Regions from separate parts of the Homo sapiens genome. Here regions 2 and 3 are each linked to region 1. The links are contacts of gene promoters, found by promoter capture Hi-C in blood cells and fetal thymus (Javierre and others, 2016). All regions are on one chromosome and are shown on one strand. The core of a region is centred on a gene start or on the middle of the fragment in contact, and the rest is flanking DNA. Distances in the headings are between cores, read along the strand shown. Region 1 holds the start of C1RL-AS1 (C1RL antisense RNA 1). Region 2 holds the start of LRRC23 (leucine rich repeat containing 23). Region 3 overlaps LOC105369632 (a long non-coding RNA gene).

Region 1 (2,899 bases), core at 343-2,842:
CCTTCTCTGAGGATGGGACCACCCATCTCCATAAGAGCCTTCTGGCCTCCTACCAAGCTGTGGGTGAGTGTCCTTCCTCGGGGAGCGGTGAGAGCAGGCAGGGGCTCTAGTATCTGCCTAAAGAAGCTTGAGTGACGGCTTGAGTGATGACTGGGACTAGGGACTGAGGGACACCTGGGCTCGACCCCAGCCCTGACCATGCTGGACAAGCAGCCTCCAGAGGTTGTGAATAGGATTCAAAAGACCACCTAAGCGCATGTCCCCCACCCCTGCTTGGGGAGGAGGGAAAGGAAGAGAAAGCTCAAGTTCAAGGATCACAAACTTCAATTCTACAAGAGGGAGGCTCCCCGGGTATGTCGTGAACGGAAAGGTCGGGGAGGAAGAGACATGGCTGATTGAAGGCAGCAGCCATAACTCACAAGGAGCCATCCTACACACATGGCAAAAATTAATGTTAAATAGTACAAAAGGGTCGAGTCAGTGCCCTGCCACCCTGACCTCTGAGGGCCAGCGAGGTTTTTGGACGTTTCTCCCCTAAGCTGCGGCGGGCCCGCTGTTCCTGAGTCAGACGGCAGGTGGCGCTCAGCCCGGAGAATTGGAGAAGGGGAACTGTGGAGTTGCTTAACATTTCCAGGAACTTCCTCCTCCCCCACCGGCCTTCACCTTTTGTTCCCTATCCTGGGCCAGTTCTCTCGCAGGTCCCAGATGTCCAGTTCCAGATGCCTGGACCCAGAGTGTGGGGGAAATATCTCTGGAGAAGCCCTCACTCCAAAGGCTGTCCAGGCGCAATGTGAGTGTGGCCCCGGCAGAGGAGGAGGGAAGAGGACGGGAGGGGAAGAGAAAGGGTGGGTGGCCGCAAACCCTCCCTCCCCCCACCCTACCCCCCCCACACACACATCCCCCCCCCCCCCACACACACACACACACACACACCTCCCCCACATACACACACCAGCAGCAGCAGCAGCAGCAGCACAGCAGATATTCCATGGGGAGACTGAAATTTGCCTGTGGCCTCTAGCACCTTCCCAGAGGGTGGTCGGGGGATATTTACGGCAGACCCTCACTCGCCCCACCATTGCTCCCTCGGATCCCAGGGTGGGGTGGGATCTGCTGAAGCAGAAAGCACCCCCCTCCTTTGGACGAGACTCTCCTGGGAGATGAGCAAAGGTGATGTCTTCGGAGGATGGAAAACCCACAATCCTAGAGCTCAGGCTGCGCGGGAGGCTGTAGGGATTGGGGTGAGGAAGGGGAGCAAGGGAGGAGACGGGAAGTGCCCGGGCCTCAAGGGTGAGGCCACAGCTTCTAGCCCTGCCTCGCGAGGCCTCTGAGTCCTAGCGCGGCTCCCCCGCTCCTCCCACACCCACAGGCTTCCGGCCATAGCTGCGCGGCCCCACCTTGCCCTCCCCCCAACTCACAGGTGGTGGCTGCTTCTCTGGGGAGTCCTCCAGGCTTGCCCAACCCGGGGCTCCGTCCTCTTGGCCCAAGAGCTACCCCAGCAGCTGACATCCCCCGGGTACCCAGAGCCGTATGGCAAAGGCCAAGAGAGCAGCACGGACATCAAGGCTCCAGAGGGCTTTGCTGTGAGGCTCGTCTTCCAGGACTTCGACCTGGAGCCGTCCCAGGACTGTGCAGGGGACTCTGTCACAGTGAGCTGGGGATGGGGGGGGTCCCGCCAGGACTGTGGCCAGGGAGATTCCCGGGGTTGTGGGAAGTGGCGGTGCCCTGAATCCCCCATCTGGAGGAGGGATGAATTTTCCATGTAGGGGCAGTCGGGCTTGGCTTACCGGGGAGCAGTGGTGGACCCCAGGACACAGCCTCCCACCAGCGCCTCCGGGGCTGCCATCTGGGCCCCACAGAGCAAAGAGGGCAGCAAGCAGGCCCTGCGTTTGGAAGGCTTATGAATGGACACACAAATCTTGCAAATCTATGGAGCCAGGGGCAGGGACGCACATATTGGTTGTTAAAAATATGTCATCATGTATTTGTTGAGTGCCTGCTCTATCAGGTGAGGAAGCTGGACACAAATAATAACAAAAGATTAAGTCACCGTTCACACTTACCTTGGAAGAGCTATTACAAAACTTCTAACGCCAAAGCCTTATTCAGAATAAGGACATTTTAAAAACAGTACTTGATGGAGTGATGCAAGCTTGCAGTCCCAGCAGTATAGTCAGGAGACTGAGGCTGGAGGATCAGAGGGCTGGAGCCCAGGGTTCAAGGCCAGCCTAAGCAACATAGCAAGACCCCATCTCAAAAATAAGTAAATAATAAATAAAAATAAAAAGAGCACATTATCTTTTGATTTAAATTTTATTTATATCAAAATGACATAAATTTTTGAACTTTATTTTTTAATTTTAAAATTTTTAATTATTATGGATACATAATAGTTGTAAGACTTTTTGTTTTTTAATTAAAGTTTTCTAAGGCTGGGCGCAGTAGCTCATGTCTGTAGTCCCAGCACTTTGGGAGGCTGAGGCGAAAGAAGCACTTGAGCCCAGGAATTTGAGACCAGCCTGGGCAACATAGCAAGACCCCATCTCTACAAAAAAATTTAAAAATTAGCCAAGTGTGGTGGCACGCACCTGTGGTCCCAGCTACAAGGGACGCTGAAGTGAGAGGATCACTTGAGCCTGGAAGGTAGAGGCTGCAGTGAGCTCTGATCATGACACCGTACTCCAGCCTGGGTGACAGAGTGAGACCCTGTCTCCAAAAAAAAAAAAAGGTTTTTAAAAAGGTTTATGAATAACAGCAGTCTCCAAGCTGTTCCTCCCCGCCCCTGAGTGCTGCTCCTCAGGAGCAGTCATTTGCCAATTCATGTAGCTGTTTCATCTGGTCTTTAACTTCATATGTATAAATAACATGCTTATTTGTCTTTCATTTTTACGTATTTTCT
Region 2 (2,872 bases), core at 1-2,500, 200 kb after region 1:
TTTCCACTAGGCATGAGAAGAGTCAAACTCTCAACCAGAACACCCAGGAATGACAGTGGGAAAGGAGATAGGGGCCCTACAGTCTCACAGTCCTCATCTGGTCCCCCCAAAACGCACCTCTCTTTAACCTCCAGCTTGACATAAGCATGAGCCAGCCCATTGCCTGTCTTACAGAGCAGAGAAAGCCCTTCCTTCATCATGTCCTCCGTGAGGGGGGTGGGCAGCCACTGCAGGTAGAAGTGGAGTAAGGTGTCTCTCCCCTGCCCAACCCCCTCCTTCAGCCCTAGGACCCCTCCTTGTCCAGGCTCTCACTTCCTCAGGGAACTCTTCCCCCTCTTTTCTGTAGTCCTCCCCCTCCTCTGTCTCCTTCTCGTCCTCTTCTTTCTCAGAATCATCCTGGTCTGGCTCAGAGTCTTCTAGATCATCTTCATCTGACATCTTTCTTCCCTCCTGAAAGCTCTGGAGTCAGATAAGCTCAGTCCTCCTCCTGAAAAAGAAGGTCTCATCAGCTTCTGCCAGCCTTCAGCTCCTTCATCGTCATTGACACGTGCCACTCCCATCACCCCCATGACTTCTGACCCACCAACTCTAGGCTTCTTTCCTTATCCCTGTGAACATCTCATTTTGATTCTCAACTCCCACTTCACACTTTCCACTGAGGACCCCCTCCCTTCAGGATGTCACCCACACCCCCAGGCCTTTCCTGTCCTTCACAGTGACTCCAGCTCTCCTCCAGCAGCCGGGTGTCCCTATTTCCTGGGCTTCCCTCTCCCCCATTCTTCCCACCTCCCCCTTAAGCCATGCTCTCCAATCTTCCCTACCAATTCCTCCTCCTCTCCTCTCAGCTCCCATTGCGCCATCCGTAATCCCTGCTCCATTCATTTCTTCTACTTTTCCCTCCCCACTGGGCCAATTTCCTTGGGCCCTCTGGTACACCAGCCTAAAGCGCAGTCTCCAACCCTCCCACTCAATTCGCCTTAGCAAAGGGGCTCAGACCCTGTTTCTGCTCAATCAGAAGCAGTTCTGGAGAGGCCCTTGGTCCCGAGAGGGAAGGACTGTTTAGCAAGCGGGCGAGGGGAAGGAGGGGTTGTGTACTGCTGTTATGGCAACGGGGACGGGGCACTTGGCAACTGCAGCTCGCCACCGTTGAGAGTAGAGCGGCGACTACCTGATGCGCAAATCAGCCGGGGAGGGGATTGATCAGTAGTTGCCTGGTTACCACGCCACTTTCCCGTCCCGGGAACCCGGATGAGGCGCGGAAGGGGCGTTGGGCCGCTAATTGGCTGAGGACAAAAAGAAGTGGGCAGGGCTGAGAAGCGAGAAGAGAGGGGGCGGGGCTAGTCATTACGTCACCCAAGACCTTAAAGGGACCGGACATCTTCAATGCAAAAGTATTGTGAATTCAGGAAAAACTCGTCCTTCGAAGCAAAAAGGGCGGGGCTGCGAGGAAAAGCAAGAAACACCAAGATAAGGGGTCTTTTCCCCTTCCCCCTATAGTTTCTGCTCATTAGTTATTTTCAGGTAGACCTTTGGAAGGTGGCTTGGTGGAGCGGAAGGAGTCCAGACCCAGATACCTTAAGAACTGGGTTGGAGTCTTGGCAGATCTGCATTTGCTAGCTAAACGTACCCAAGACTCTTTGTTATCTGTAGAATTAGCTTAACTATATCAACTGACAGGGATCCAGTATGAGTTATCCTGGACTGGTTTGATGCAAACCTTTTAGTGGGTGGAAGGCAGAAAATTCAACATCTGCCCACTAAAATACTCCTGATCCAACGTTGTTATATCAGTAATCAACAGGAACTGGCATAGCCAAACCCAGGCACTCAGGCCTGTCTGACATGTTGAAGGAGATGAAAAAGATGTTGAGATGCAATAAATATTTCTGGAGAGTTTGTGCGAGACATTATGTCAAACATCTTTACAACTGATATTTAATCTCTGCAACAGTCCTGTAAGATAGACATTTGAAAGAAGAGGATACTGAGGCTCAGGGAGGTTAAGATGACACAATTCCTGCCTGGGGAAAGGGGGATGTTACCAATCTTGTTGTGGAATCTAATGTAAATGAAACAATGAGGTAACCAGGTAAGATGGCATGTGATTCATTGTTAAATTGTGCCCACAGACTTTATATAACGGCAAAGTGGTCTGGTGGAAGATGTGGTGGGCAAGAAATCAGGAAGTATTATATTACCTCCTGCCCAGGGCAGCTTGGAGGAATGTGGTTAATAGGCAAATCTGTTTACTTGGTGTCATGGAACCAGTAGGGACTTTAAAGTCAGAGACACCAGCTTCAAAACCCATCTCTACTACTTAATACCTGTGTGTCCTTCAGCAGGTTATGAAATCTTACTGAGGTCTAATTTCCACAGTCGTGAAATGGGGATTATTAAAACGTCCACCTGTAAGGATTGTTAAGGGATTAAAAGAGATAATGTGGGTAAATCGCCTTGCACTTAGTTGACCCTTAGTAAACATTTTCCTGCTCCTCCCCACCCCTGGCCTGTGTCCTTGGTACTGGGGTTGCTGTGAGGAAAAAGAAATAATAAATATGAACACTCTGAAGAGTGAGATGTGCTATACAAATGAAAGTTATTGTATTGTTGGAGTGTGGAGAAGGGAAAAATCCATGTGGTTTGATGTAGTCAAAAGAAATGGATATGAGTTTCCTTGGCCAAGAAGAAAGAGGAAGACACATTAGATGGGAAGAAAAGTTGTGATGTAAGGGTTAGGAAGGTGTCCTTGAACATACACTTTTGTTATTTTGTTTTTATTTTTGTTTTGAAATAGAGTTTCCCTCTGTCGCCCAGGATGGAGTGCGGTGGAGCAATCATAGCTCACTGCAACGTCCACCTCCTGGGCTCAAGC
Region 3 (2,873 bases), core at 374-2,873, 220 kb after region 1:
AGGACTACAGGCACACGCCGCCATGCCTGGCTAATTTTTTGTATATTTAAAGTAGAGATGGGGTTTCACCGTGATGCCCAGGCTGGTCTTGGACTCCTGAGCTCAAACAATCCACCCACTTTCGCCTCCCAAAGTGCTAGAACTACAGGCGTGAGCACCGCGCCTGGCTATTTTCTTTTTTCTTTTCTTTTCTTTTCTTTTTTTTTTTTAAAAAAACAACTTTAGACTTTAGATATATGTGGGGAAAAGCAAAAGAGATCAGATTGTTACTGTGTCTGTGTAGAAAGAAGTAGACATAGGAGACTCCATTTTGTTCTGTACTAAGAAAAATTCTTCTGCCTTGAGATTCTGTTAATCTATAACCTTACCCCCAACCCCGTGCTCTCTGAAACATGTGCTGTGTCAACTCAGAGTTAAATGGATTAAGGGCGGTGCAAGATGTGCTTTGTTAAACAGATGCTTGAAGGCAGCATGCTCCTTAAGAGTCATCACCACTCCCTAATCTCAAGTACCCAGGGACACAAACACTGCGGAAGTCCGCAGGGACCTCTGCCTAGGAAAGCCAGGTATTGTCCAAGGTTTCTCCCCATATGATAGTCTGAAATATGGCCTCGTGGGAAGGGAAAGACCTGACCATCCCCCATCCCGACACCCGTAAAGGTTCTGTGCTGAGGAGGATTAGTAAAAGAGGAAGGAATGCCTCTTGCAGTTGAGACAAGAGGAAGGCATCTGTCACCTGCCTGTCCCTGGGCAATGGAATGTCTTGGTATAAAACCCGATTGTATGCTCCATCTACTGAGATAGGGAAAAACCGCCTTAGGGCTGGAGGTGGGACCTGCGGGCAGCAATACTGCTTTGTAAAGCATTGAGATGTTTATGTGTATGCATATCTAAAAGCACAGCACTTAATCCTTTACATTGTCTATGATGCAAAGACCTTTGTTCACGTGTTTGTCTGCTGACCCTCTCCCCACAATTGTCTTGTGACCCTGACACATCCCCCTCTTCGAGAAACACCCACAAATGATTAATAAATACTAAGGGAACTCAGAGGCTGGCAGGATCCTCCATATGCTGAACGCTGCTTCCCCGGGTCCCCTTATTTCTTTCTCTATACTTTGTGTCTTTTTCTTTCCCAAGTCTCTCGTCCCACCTTACGAGAAACACCCACAGGTGTGGAGGGGCAACCCACCCCTACAGATATATTTAGGGCTGTTTGCATATGTTTATAGAGTATTTAGTTTACTCTAAAAGATGACAAGACAGCTCCCCTCAGTGAGACCCTGGCCTAAATATATTTGCTTTATTTATATAGCAAGAGGATAACATTAAACGTGGAAGCTTTCAATTTGTGGCACTGAATGATGATCTACACAGGGCATCCTTCAAAGGCTACAATTAAGGATCCACTGGCCAGGCATGCTGGCTCACGCCTGTAATCCCAGCACTTTGGGAGGCCAAGGAGGGCAAATCACGAGGTCAGGAGTTCGAGACCAGCCTGACCAATATGGTGAAACCCTGACTCTACTAAGAATACAAAAATTAGCCAGGTGTGGTGGCGCACGCTATAATCCCAGCTACTCAGGAGGCTGGGCAGGAAAATCACTTGAACCCGGGAGGCAGAGGTTGCAGTGAGCCGAGATCCTGTCACTGCACTCCAGCCTGGGCGACAGATCAAGACTCCATCTCAAAAAAAAAAAAAAAGGATCCACCTAACTTTTCAGCAGTACAAGCCCGATTGAGATCTTCTGGTCCGTTTGTTTGCCATTCATGTTTTATGCCTTGAAATTTCTTTTTGATTGCATCCTTGGAGCTTGTATAGATCATTTTACTTTTCAAAGGTGCTAGTTCTGATGCCCACAAGAAAACATCAATTCTTCTGGATTCTTTTGTTTCAAAGCTTGCATCATACAAAGCATAGCAACAATCTTTTTCAGGAAGCATTCCCACAAAATGCTTGAAAGGCTCACTTATAGTTACACCAACATCTCCAACCAAGATCTCTTTGCCTTCTACATGATGCACTTTTTGTCTGCACTGAGACAAAAAAATGACAGCCTTTGTTCTTTTCTTGATTTCTTCTGGTGTGGAGCATTTACGAACTCTCATGTCATAAAAAATGCGACACACTTCATCAGCAACTTGCACTCCTGAGGCACGTTGTTCAGAGTTCTGCTCTGCCGAGCTTCCAGTCTTTACATTCAATTTCCTATCTCACATCTCCAGTTGTATGTCTCAAAGGCATCTGATGCACAACAGGTCATCTTCGCCCACCACCACAGGGACGCGGGGGAGGGAGCCGGCGGGTAGTGAGTCTGGGCAGCGTCCTCCTCGTGGCTGCGGGACTGAGAGGGCGGGTAGTGAGTCTGGGCAGCGTCCTCCTCATGGCTGCGGGACCGAGAGACCCAGCGCGAAGCTGATGCAGCGGCTCGAGCCTACCCGTTTTTTTTTTTTTTAAGCGTCCTCTTCTACAGCTTCCTTGGCTCTTTGTGCCTATATGCCGAAGAGCTGGGCATTTGCATGGGCCATACAGAGACTAACAAGGCCTGGAAGTTTTCCTCCTAGTCAGCGATGACTCTGGCTTTCTCCTTGTAGACATTGCCGATGGGCATTTCTGGTCCTGTCAGCTGAGTATCCAGTTCGAGTTCTTCAGCAGAACTGTCTCCCTTCTTGGGGGCCAAGGGCTTCCTGGGGAAGAGGATGAGTGAGGAGCGGTCCTCCTTCAGCCTCTGCACCTTGGCCTGCAGGGCCTGGGTGGACTGGTTCCTCCTCCTTGCATCCTCAGAGATGCCAATGGTCTGGGCCACCTTCTTGTAAATGCCAGCCACCCTTAACTCCTCCAAGCTGAGGCCCCTGCCAGCTTGTGCTTTGTA

What was found. Contacts are between HindIII fragments. The CHiCAGO score rates a contact against its expected background, and 5 or more counts as called.
Region 2: the fragment with the promoter of LRRC23 here is called in contact with the fragment with the promoter of C1RL-AS1 in region 1 in 17 of 17 cell types (total CD4 T cells, naive CD8 T cells, fetal thymus and 14 more); the score reaches 36.6 in total CD4 T cells.
Region 3: a contact is called between a fragment that was not itself captured here and the fragment with the promoter of C1RL-AS1 in region 1, in 4 of 17 cell types (naive B cells, naive CD4 T cells, activated CD4 T cells and 1 more). The highest score is 6.9, in naive B cells.

What each region holds. Positions count from the first base shown.
Region 1 is chr12:7,107,001-7,109,899 of GRCh38, reverse strand. C1RL-AS1 (C1RL antisense RNA 1) reads right to left here and starts at 1,592. Exons shown (of 12, transcript NR_026947.1): 1 at 1,419-1,592; 2 at 953-1,227. It overlaps C1RL (complement C1r subcomponent like), which reads left to right and starts at 686. Exons shown (of 6, transcript NM_016546.4): 1 at 686-790; 2 at 1,421-1,649. The coding sequence starts at 720. RefSeq lists enhancers at 745-824, 1,465-1,634, 467-1,666. The HindIII fragment of the contact is 2,026 bases long and covers 129-2,154 here.
Region 2 is chr12:6,903,200-6,906,071 of GRCh38, reverse strand. It overlaps LRRC23 (leucine rich repeat containing 23), which reads right to left and starts at 1,250. Exons shown (of 8, transcript NM_001135217.2): 1 at 997-1,250; 2 at 313-487; 3 at 118-227. The coding sequence starts at 438. The HindIII fragment of the contact is 20,869 bases long and covers 1-2,872 here.
Region 3 is chr12:6,884,186-6,887,058 of GRCh38, reverse strand. The region is part of intron 1 of LOC105369632 (a long non-coding RNA gene); the gene reads left to right. It also overlaps the pseudogene RPL13P5 and the pseudogene DSTNP2. Among named protein-coding and RNA genes, the nearest start is that of SPSB2, 12 kb to the right of the region's middle. RefSeq lists enhancers at 358-905, 2,552-2,873. The HindIII fragment of the contact is 559 bases long and covers 1,344-1,902 here.